3 separate regions of the Homo sapiens genome follow, and all the other regions are linked to region 3. Evidence: promoter capture Hi-C in 16 types of primary human blood cells and fetal thymus (Javierre and others, 2016). All regions are on one chromosome and are shown on one strand. The core of a region is centred on a gene start or on the middle of the fragment in contact, and the rest is flanking DNA. Distances in the headings are between cores, read along the strand shown.

The links. Contacts are between HindIII fragments. The CHiCAGO score rates a contact against its expected background, and 5 or more counts as called.
Region 1: a fragment that was not itself captured here is called in contact with the fragment with the promoter of SELENBP1 in region 3 in 2 of 17 cell types (M2 macrophages and erythroblasts); the score reaches 10.4 in M2 macrophages.
Region 2: a fragment that was not itself captured here is called in contact with the fragment with the promoter of SELENBP1 in region 3 in 2 of 17 cell types (M2 macrophages and M1 macrophages); the score reaches 8.2 in M2 macrophages.

Annotation. Positions count from the first base shown.
Region 1 is chr1:151,780,622-151,784,009 of GRCh38, reverse strand. TDRKH (tudor and KH domain containing) reads left to right here. Exons shown (of 13, transcript NM_001083965.2): 2 at 961-1,111; 3 at 2,423-2,529. The coding sequence starts at 988. Among named protein-coding and RNA genes, the nearest start is that of TDRKH, 8.2 kb to the left of the region's middle. The HindIII fragment of the contact is 4,445 bases long and covers 1-3,388 here.
Region 2 is chr1:151,741,796-151,745,589 of GRCh38, reverse strand. No RefSeq gene overlaps it. Among named protein-coding and RNA genes, the nearest start is that of MRPL9, 20 kb to the left of the region's middle. The HindIII fragment of the contact is 2,727 bases long and covers 859-3,585 here.
Region 3 is chr1:151,371,071-151,374,416 of GRCh38, reverse strand. SELENBP1 (selenium binding protein 1) reads left to right here and starts at 1,712. Exons shown (of 12, transcript NM_003944.4): 1 at 1,712-1,779. The coding sequence starts at 1,776. RefSeq lists enhancers at 1,191-1,774, 1,775-2,358, 3,105-3,346. The HindIII fragment of the contact is 17,083 bases long and covers 1-3,346 here.

The DNA.
Region 1 (3,388 bases), core at 862-3,361, 410 kb before region 3:
ACTATGTGGAATAAGGAAATATAATGAGGAACATGTTAAAATTTGCTTGGCAGCAAAATGAAGATACAGTGTCAAAGAGAAACTCAGCACAAAAGCCTGTAAGAAGTCCACTGCTGTGGTCTAAATAAGATTTGAGCTTCTGAATCAGGCCAGATGCAGCATTGTTGATGTCATTAGCATATAGGTAGTAATTGAACCCACATATGTGGATGAAATGGTCTAAAGAGAGCAGAGTGACATTAACAATTGATGGCACAGGATGAGAAGCCCAAACTTGGAAGGACCCTCCAGGGAAATAAGAGGAAACCAAGAGAAAGAGGGCACAGAAACCAAGGAAAGAGTTTTGTGGAGGGAGTGGCCACCTTCCTGCTACCGCAGAGAGATGGGTGAGATAAGGCTCCATGCATGACCTGTAGGTTGATTATCTGGGAAGTTACAGTTTTGGCGATGGAGCAGGGAAGAACCCCATTTCACTGTTCGTTAAGGAGTAAATAAATAGAAACCAAAAGTAGAGACAGTAAATGAAGACTGTACTTCCAACAAAGATAAATAGTAAGGCCTTTACTAAGCCTGGAATGGCATTTCTTGCAGAGGCAGCAGCTTCTGGAAAGCCCTGGAGGCATAAAAGGACTTAGATAAGTAATTTTAAATAATTTAATATGAAATCTAAGTATATATATTTCAAATATTTGATTCATTTAATTTTTTTTGTCTTTTAAAACTGACTTGGGTGGGGAAAGTGAAGTATGCTTCTATTTAATTCTATGTGTACCTTAGCTAACTTTTAAAAAATACCCTGAGCCCTTTTTATATGAAATAAATTTTGAAATTGCTGAAGCTCTTGAAATTGGAAGGTAGGCAGTAGTAGTCTTTTCAGTAATAATGTGCTCCCATGCCTCTCTGCTATTCATAAAAGGATTGGATGAAACCTCCCTCTTTTCCCTGCTTTGCTTGTTTCAGGATATAAGTCAAAGAGTACAGCAGAAAATGTCTACTGAACGGACTTCTTGGACAAGCCTGTCCACCATTCAGAAAATAGCCCTGGGCCTTGGGATCCCAGCCAGTGCAACAGTTGCCTATATCCTATACCGCAGGTATAGGGAAAGCAGAGGTACGTGAACCCTATGACTGTGTGTGTGAAAATGTTCAGACATGCTCCTGCCTTGTTAAATTGAAAAAAACTCTTTCCTTGCCAGGTATTGTGTGTGTTTTGTTTTGGGGTTTTTTGTGGGGTTTTTTTGAGACAGGGTCTCACTCTGTCACCTAGCCTGGCGTACAGTGGCACAATCTTGGCTCACTGTAGTGTCGACCTCCTGGGCTCAAGCAATCCTCCCACCTCAGCCTCCAAGTAGCTGGGACCACAGGCCTGTATTTTTTGTAGAGATGGGGTTTTCCCATGTTGCCCAGGCTGGTCTTGAACTCCTGAGCTCAAGCAACCCACCTGCCTCGGCCTCCCAAAGTGCTAGGATTACAGGCATGTGCCTCCATGCCTGACCCAGGTATTTTAATTGACTTTCTGTGAGGAATCTTTGACTAAAATTATTTAGTCTTTTTTTTTTCTTTGAGACAGAGTCTCACTCTGTCGCCCACACTGGAGTGCAGTGGAGCAATCTCGGCTCACTGCAACCTCTGCCTCCCGAGTTCAAGCAGTTCTCCTGCCTCAGCCACCCTAGTAGCTGGGATTACAGGCGTGTGCCACCACTCCTGGCTAATGTTTGTATTTTTAGTAGAGACGGGGTTTCACCACCAGGGTGGCTGACCTCAAGTGATCCACCTGCCTCGGCCTCCCAAAGTGCTGAGATTACAGGCATGAGCCACTGCACCTGGCCTAGTCTTTGCTATGTTCTTACATAGCAAAGTAAGCTAGTCTATGAAATGAACTCATTTTATAACTCCATTGATGTGCTTTCTTCAGCAACATCAACACAGCAAAGAGTTCTTTTTTAATTTCTATACTCATCTTTTTTATATATTCCTTTTCTCTAATTAGTTGTTAGTAGAAGGCACTTACCTCAAAGGCTGGATCTAGAGAATAGGACCTAGAGAAATGACTTATGTACCTATCAGTCAGGAGAAGTTCTGAGCCTAATGGACCCCTCAGGTAACTTTTGGCCTTCATTCTTCTCCAGTAGTCATGTCTTGGGAGAAGTAGTTTGCCCAAACCCCAGCACCTGTTTATTGCAGAATCTGCTTTTCCCATTTTAGCATCTGAAACAGTGTCCCAGAGAAAATGCCCATCTCTGATCCTTTGGGACCTTCTAATTCCCATTCAGATGCCACTTTTCCTTGTTGTTATGGTTGAGATCCTCACTTTATCTCTTGGATCAGTGTCTCTTTGACAGCCAGATTCTGGGGAGGACTGGTAGTTATACTAGCTTTGGGTGTTATCTAAGTCTGATCTGATGAACAATGATCTGTGCAGAAGAGCGGCTGACATTTGTTGGGGAAGATGACATTGAGATAGAGATGCGGGTTCCCCAGGAGGCTGTGAAACTCATCATTGGCCGGCAAGGAGCCAATATTAAACAGGTAAGTGTGTGAGTAGGCAGTCTGCTTTCCCAAGGATTGATTCTGTTTATTGATTTCTTGTTTCCTTCCACTGACCCCATATCACAAAACATTCACATGCTCTGTGTGTGTGTGTATGTGTGTGTGTATATATAAAATATATATATATATATTTTTTTTTTTTGAGATGGAGTTTCGCTCTTGTTGTCCAGGCTGGAGTGCAATGGCACGATCTCGGCTCACTGCAACATCCGCCTCCTGGGTTCAAGTGATTCTCCTGCCTCAGCCTCCCGAGTAGCTGGGATTACAGGCACCCGCCACCACGCCCAGCGAATTTTTGGTATTTTTAGTGGAGACGAGGTTTCGTCATGTTGGCCAGGCTGATCTCGAACTCCTGACCTCAGGTGATCCGCCTGCCTCGGCCTCCCAGAGTGCTGGGATTACAGGTGTGAGCCACTGGGCCCAACCACTATGTATATTTTTAAAAGAACAAATAGAGGAACTTTTTAGCTAACTAAACTTTTTAGCTACTTCCCTTCTAGAGAAGAGTACTTCTCCCTAGAGAAAGGATGACTTAGCTTGAAATACGGGTTTTTGACTGGGTGATTGTCAGCATGGTATAACTTGAATTATCCTTTTTTTTTTTTTTTTTGAGACAGAGTCTGGCTCTGTCACCCAGGCTGGAATGCAGTGGCATGATCTTGGCTCACTGCAAGCTCCGCCTCCCATGTTCACATCATTCTCCTGCCTCAGCCTCCCAAGTAGCTGGGACTACAGGTGCCCGCCACCACTCCCAGCTAATTTTTTGTATTTTTTGTAGAGACAGGGTTTCACCATGTTAGCCAGGATGGTCTCGATCTCCTGACCTCGTGATCCAGCC
Region 2 (3,794 bases), core at 973-3,472, 370 kb before region 3:
ACCAAAAAGAACAGGAAATCAATGAGATTTATTTTTTAAAAATCAATGAACAAAATCAATAAAACAAGTAACTGTTTCTTTGGAAAAAAATTATTAAAATTGGCAGGCCACTAGCAAAACTGATGAAAAACAAAAAGATACAAATTACCAATATCAGGAATGAAACAACATATCACTACAAACATCAAAAGGATAAGGGAATACCATGGATCTATACACGTAAATTGACAGCTTAGACAAAATGGACCAAATCAAAAAACACAAATACCACAATGAACACAATATAAAATATATAATTTAAATAGCTCTGTAACTATTAAGGAAATTAAATTCATAATGTAAAACTTCTCCCACTCCCTAGGAAAGGAAATCTCCAGGCCCAGATAGTTTCACTAGAGAATTCTACCAAATGTCTAAAGAAGAATTAACACCAATTCTACGTAATAGAAATAGAGGAGGAAAGAACACTTCCTACTTCATTTTATGAAGCCAGTATTACCCTGAGGGGGAAAAAGACAAAACAGTATAAAATAAGTACAAACCAATATCTCTCATGAGTATAGATGCAAAAAGCATTAACAAAGTATCAGTAAATAGATCTCAGTAATGTATAAAAAGCATTACACACCATACCCATCTCATTCCAAAGATGCAAGGCTGGTTCAATATTAAAAAATCAATCAATGTAATCCATCCTATTAAAACTCTAAAGAAGAAAATCACAAAATAAAATCAAGTAATGCAGAAGACTCATTTGACAAAATAACACTCATTTGTGATTTAAAGAAAAAAACAACTCTCAGAAAAATAAGAATACAGAGAAACTTCCTTAACTTGACAGAGTACCTGTAAAAAGCTTACAGTTAACATTACACTTAATGGTGAAAGTCTGAATGTTTTTATATTCAACATAGTGCTGAGGTAGTACAAAGGTACTACCTCAATTCAATGAAAAGGTACTACCTCAATTCAATTTAAAAAAATCAATTCGCTGGAGGAAAGCTAGCCTTTTCAACAAATGATGTTGGAGCAACTGGACAGCCATAGGCAAAAAATGAAACTCGATCTAAGTCTAATACCTTCTATAAAAATTAGCTCAAAATGGCAAAAGACTTAAATGTAACTTGTAAAACTATAAAACTTATTTTTAAAACAGAAGAACACTTTCAAATTCTAGGATTAGACAAAGAGTTCTTAGACATGATACCAAAAGCACAATCCATGAAAAAAAAATTGAGATTTTGGACCTCTCAAAATTAAAAACTTTTGCCCTTGGAAAGCCCATGTGAAGAGGGTGAAAAGACAAGGTACTGGGAGAAAATATTTGCAAATTACATATCTAACAAAGGACCAGTATCTTCAGTATATTAAAAAAAAAAAAAAACCTCAAACTCAACAGTAAAAACAAAACAAAACAAAAAAACTGCCTGTAATTCCAGTAAAAAAAAAAAAAAAAACCCTCAAACTCAACAGTAAAAACAAAACAAAACAAAAAAACTGCCTGTAATTCCAGCACTTTGGGAGGCCAAGGTAGGAGGATCACTTGAAGCCAGGAGTTGGAGAACAGCCTGGATAACATAAGGAGACCCCATCTCTACCAAACATTTAAAAATTAGCCAGGTGTGGCCGTGCACACCTGTAGACCCAGCTACATAGGAGACTGAGACAAGAGGATCACTTGAGCCCAGGAGTTCCACGTTATAGTGAGCTATGATCGTGCCACTGTACTCCAGCCTGTGCAACAGAGTGAACCCCTATCAAAAAAACAAAACAAACAAACAAAAAACCCCACAAACAATCCACTTAGAAAATGGGCAAAAAACATGAATATACATTTCACCCAAAAGAATATTCAAGCATATGAAAAGATGTTCAACATGATTAGCTATCAGAGAAATGTAAATTAAAACTACAATGTGTTACTACACACCTATCAGAATGGCTGAAATAAAAAATAGCAACAGCACCAAATCCTGCTAAAAATGCAGATAAACTGGTCATACATTGCTGGTAGGAATGCAGAATGAGGTAGGAACTTTGAAAAAGAGTTTGGCAGTTCCTTACAAAGTTAAAACATGCACTTACCATTTAACACAGCAATCCTATTCCCAGATATTTACCAAAGAGAAATGAAAAGTTACTAATGATATGTGAAAGTTCATTGGAGTTTTATTCATGATAGTCCCCAAATGAAAACAATCCAAACATCCATCAACTGCTGCAAAAACAGTGGAATACTACCCAACAAGAGAGAGGAACAAATGATATGTACAACAGTGATAAACCTAAAAGTATAATGAAAGAAGTTGAACACAAAAGACTACATGCTATATGATTCCATTTATGTGAAATTCTTTAAAAAGCAAGACTATAGTGGCAATTTATCAGTGGTTGCTAGGGGCCAGAGCTGAGGATGGGAATTGACTGCAGAGGGTAATGAGCAGCGGTGTCCTGGGAAATGTTTAACAACTGGCTCTTGGTGGAGAGGGAGCCTGGTTTGTAGCATTTGCTGATTTCCATGGTGTAAATACCCCTCCATTGCCAATTTCAAATTACCGATGTGACATGACCGAACATTTAGTAGAGAAGAAAGGCTAGTTAACAGCTGAATCTCCCAAGGTGGCATAAGTGGGATCCAGCGCACCACTGTCCACAAGGAAATTTGGGGGCATGATGGAAATGTTGCATATCTTGTGTTAATGGCTGAACAACTGTACATATCTGTAAAACTCATTAAAGTATATATTTAAAATGGGTGAATTTTAATGTAGGTAAATTGTACCTCAGTAAAGATGAATTTTTTTTTAAGCTGAGCGGGTGCAGAAACAGTAAGGAATTGTAACTTTTTATCAGGGTGGCTGCCCTCCACCTCCTAATCATCCATCCTTAATTTCTTTTTGTTGTTGTTGTTGTTGTTTGTTTTTTAATGCATTGAACAACGTATTTGTTGAGTGCCATCTATCTTGTCCCCAGGAACCCATGCTCTATTAATGATCGCCAAATTTCTCTGCTGGTCAGACCCTGGCTACCTCTCCAACCTTTCTGCTCAGCACAATAATTCTGCTACTTTGACTCTGGCATCCTATTGTCCCTCTGCTACTAGTAAGCCCAGCTCTGTGACCGTATACCCTATGTCAGCCCTGGCCTACAGAGAACAGCCAACCCTGAGCTTCTCTTACCAGCACATTCTTCATCACTTCAAGAAATTGAGTATTCTTTCCACGCCCAGCCTCGCATGCCCACTCTTTTGAGCCTTTTAAAGAAAGTGAATATTCTTTGGGATGTCTGATGAAACATAAGCATTTGGTGAGTTTTCTGACTTTACATATTAATTCTAGCATACCCACTCTTTCTTTTTTAAATAGAGATGGGGTCTTATTATGTTGCCCAGGCTGTGCTTGAACTCCTGGGCTCAAGCAGTCCTCCTACCTCAGCCTCCCAAAGTGCTGGGATTACAGGCATGAGCCACCACACCCGGCCTAGCAGGCCCACTCTTTTGAGCCATTTAACACCTCTTCCACTATATGCCACAGCACTCCTCACACGCCTACTTCACTTAATGTGGGCCATGACTTTCTCCAAGCTTCCCAGAGCCATCCCACTGTAACCAAAACAGGTTCAGTTGCTTGCTGCTTACAGAGTCCAATTAACAAAAGCAAGGTCTGGTATAAAGAAAGCGACTTTTTATTCCAAAGCTAGCTTAGGGGAAGAAGGTATAGCCTCCGGCTTTTAGGGTACCACTTCACTCTTGGAGCAGAAAACAGGTGCTTTTAAAAGGGGACCTGGCATGCTGA
Region 3 (3,346 bases), core at 463-2,962:
AGGCAGAGGTGAGGGGTGCCATGGAGTTGCTGCAGAGACCAGCCAGGTCAGAGCTCAGGAGCATGAAAGAGGTAGTCAATGACAGACCACAACAAACAAAATAACAGCCTTTTTTTTTTTAAGTTAATGACTCAATAATTTTTTATGAGAAGGTGGGGATAAAGTTTCTTTCTCTTTCAGATCTTGGGTGGTGGACTAACCCAAGCCAAGAAGCCGGAGAATAGAGAGGAGGCAGGAGATGGAGACCTCAGGAGGAGGAAGAGGGGAGGGCCAGAGGGAAGGGTGAAGGCAGGGTGAGTGGAGGTAGTCAGGACAGGAGGAAGCTGGCAAAGACAAGGAAGCAGCCTTCAGGGCCTTCCCCGTGGGGCAGCTGCACACACAAGACTCTCTTTGATGCCTGGCAGGCTGATGGCACAATGGTGAGGATAATAGATGCAGGATGGAGCCAAGAGGGGTTGAGTGGCGCTGGGGATAAGAGAAGACCCTTGCCCCGGGCAGCCACAGGGAGTCTTCCTTGATGGGCACATGATCCCTCACTGATGGGAGCCAGGAAGACAGATACCCAATGCACCAAGGCCCAATTTTGCTCCCCTTCCCCCACTCTGGTTTGGAAACCCTGTATTCTACTTGCAATCTCAAGCCCAGACTTTATTCTTTTTCCTAGCCAATAAAAACTTCACCCCAGAGCTTTTATCCAAAGAGTATGAATATCTGGAATAAGAGGGCAATCTTAGGGAAGAAGTGACCCTGGCTGATGGGCCCACAGTCCCGGGTGCCCCTAAATGCTAAGAGACAGGTCCAAATACAAAGACGAGCATTTGGAGACACAGGAACACATACGTGCGCAGGCTTACACAAGCACATGCACAGCCACATAGCCACACACTACACATACACAAGCACTTATGCACATGTCCACACAGGCGTAGATACTCTAGCAAGCACATACTCACAGAGGCGCGCACACACACACACACACACACACAGGCGTAGATACTCTGGTAGGCACATACAGAGGCGCGCACACACACACACGCACAAATACACACAAGCACACTCACAGGCACATTCACACACGTGGAAATTCACACACAGGCACAGATACACACTCATGCAGGCACGTGCACGAGCAACACGCAGGTATACAGGAACACACACATGCCCAGACACACAAATCCACACACACCCAGGCACCCACTAAAGAGCACGAGCTGGTCAGGGGCAGCGGCTCACACCTGTGATCCCAGCACTTTGGGAGGCCGACACGGGTGGATCACCTGAGGTCAGGAGTTTGAGACCAGCCTGGCCAACATGGTGAAATCCCTTCTCTACTAAAAATACAAAATTGCTGGGCATGGTGGTGGGTGCCTGTAATCCCAGCTACTCGGGAGGATGAGGCAGGAGAATCACTTGAACCCAGGAGGCAGAGGTTGCAGTGAGCCGAGATCGCACCACTGCACTCCAGCCTGGGCAAGAGTGAGACCCTGTCTCTAAATAAATAAATAAATAAATAAAGCACAGGCTCCCACACATACACACTTAAACACATACACGCACACCCCATAATTCAAACACCAGTTGCCCTAGGCCACTTGAGAGTATCCTGGCCAGCTGCCCTGAGTAGTTTACTCTGGGCTACAGCCCGGGCCCTCCTCCTTCTCTGCCCCACCCCCAGCTGGTTGTATAAATTCCCTCCCTTCGCTCCTTCCCCGGAACAGCGGCCTCTGACACCAGCACAGCAAACCCGCCGGGATCAAAGTGTACCAGTCGGCAGCATGGGTAAGGAGAGGGGTTTCCAATCACCCATTGCCTGCTCTGTCTGCCCCTAATTTGGAAGGCCCTCCTCCAGAAAATGCTAGAAAACCTGAGTGGGGAGCTGGGGAGGGAGTAGTGGACTCTGCTTCATTGTCCCCAGTCTGCACACCCCCTCCCCCACCACCCCACTGCATTTCCCAGCTCAGCCAAACTTTCTGAGGAAGACGGGCAGAGGCACTGCTGGGAGATGGGATCCTGGGCCCTGACTTGGCTCCATCCAGCAGAGGCTGGGACCAGGGTGCCTTTCTGCAGCTGGGAAAATCAGATGGGCGCTCTTAGAAAACACCACTAGGTCCCTGGCCCTCACATAGTAGAGAGGTGATCCTGATTTCAGCCATGGGCCAACTTTGTACTCCAGCGAGGTAGGGAGTCCAAAGCCTTTCTGTGCCCAGGTCACTCTCTAGCTACTCCACACAGCAAAGCTCTCTGGGAGGGAAATCAGAGACCCCCACACTCTTTCACTGGGGACCTGTTTCAATGCCTCCCCCACCCCTAAATCCCCCTTGGCCCTGCTATTCCTCCATCTGTAGGCTTCTGGGTGACAGGCTAAGAAGGAACTGAGGTTTGGTTGGGAGGTCCTTCCCCGCTCGGGGCTGGCTCTTGAGCTGGCAGAATGCCGAGCTGGCAGAATGCCCAGCAGCCAGCCTGACATGGAAAACCCACTTGAGCTTTCCATGAGTCCATCCCAAACCCAAAGCTGCTCCGAGACCTTGCTTGAGATGTTTCAGATGGGGGTATTCCCCAGAAAGAGGAATGATGCTCCCTGGGGCTGCAGTGGCATGCCAGGCCTGACCCTAAGAAATGCTGGGGCTGGGGTTGCTGGGGTGTGGGGTGGGCCGAGGCTGCAGAGCGGGCAGCTCCATCTCTGCACTTTTACTTCCCTCTCAGCTTCTCCCTAGCTTTGTATTTTTTGTATCTCTGTCTTGAGGTCTTGGAGTTTTAAAATCTCCTTTCCCTTCTGTATCCAGCAACCTCCTTCCCCACCCCCTGTCATCTGGTGCCAAGCCCCGACTTAGCAAGATTGTGTAACAGAACCAGTCTCCTTAACTCCTGTGAACTGGACCTCTCTCTCTCTCCCTGCCCCACCTCCAGCCCTCTCGCTGGGCATCGAGCACTCCCTGGCATTCTCCTCTCCTCTGGCACAGCCCTTCCCATATTTACACAGTAATTCATTATTTTTTTTTTTTTTTAGTCAGAATTTCACTCTTGTTGCCCAGGCTGGAGTGACTGCAGTGGCGTGATTTCGGCTTACTGCAGCCTCCACCTCCCAGGTTCAAGTGATTCTCCTGCCTCAGCCTCCCAAGTAGCTGGGATTACAGGTGTATGCCTGTATTTTTTAATACAGGCTAATTTTTAATACAGGGTAATTTTTGTATTTTTAATAGAGACAGGGTTTTGCCATGTTAGTGAGGCTGGTCTCAAACTCCTGACCTTAGGTGATCTTTCCGCCTCAGCCTCCCAAAGTGCTGGGATTACAGGCATGAGCCACCGCACCCGGCCTAATTCATTTTTATGAAAGGCCTTTGGAATA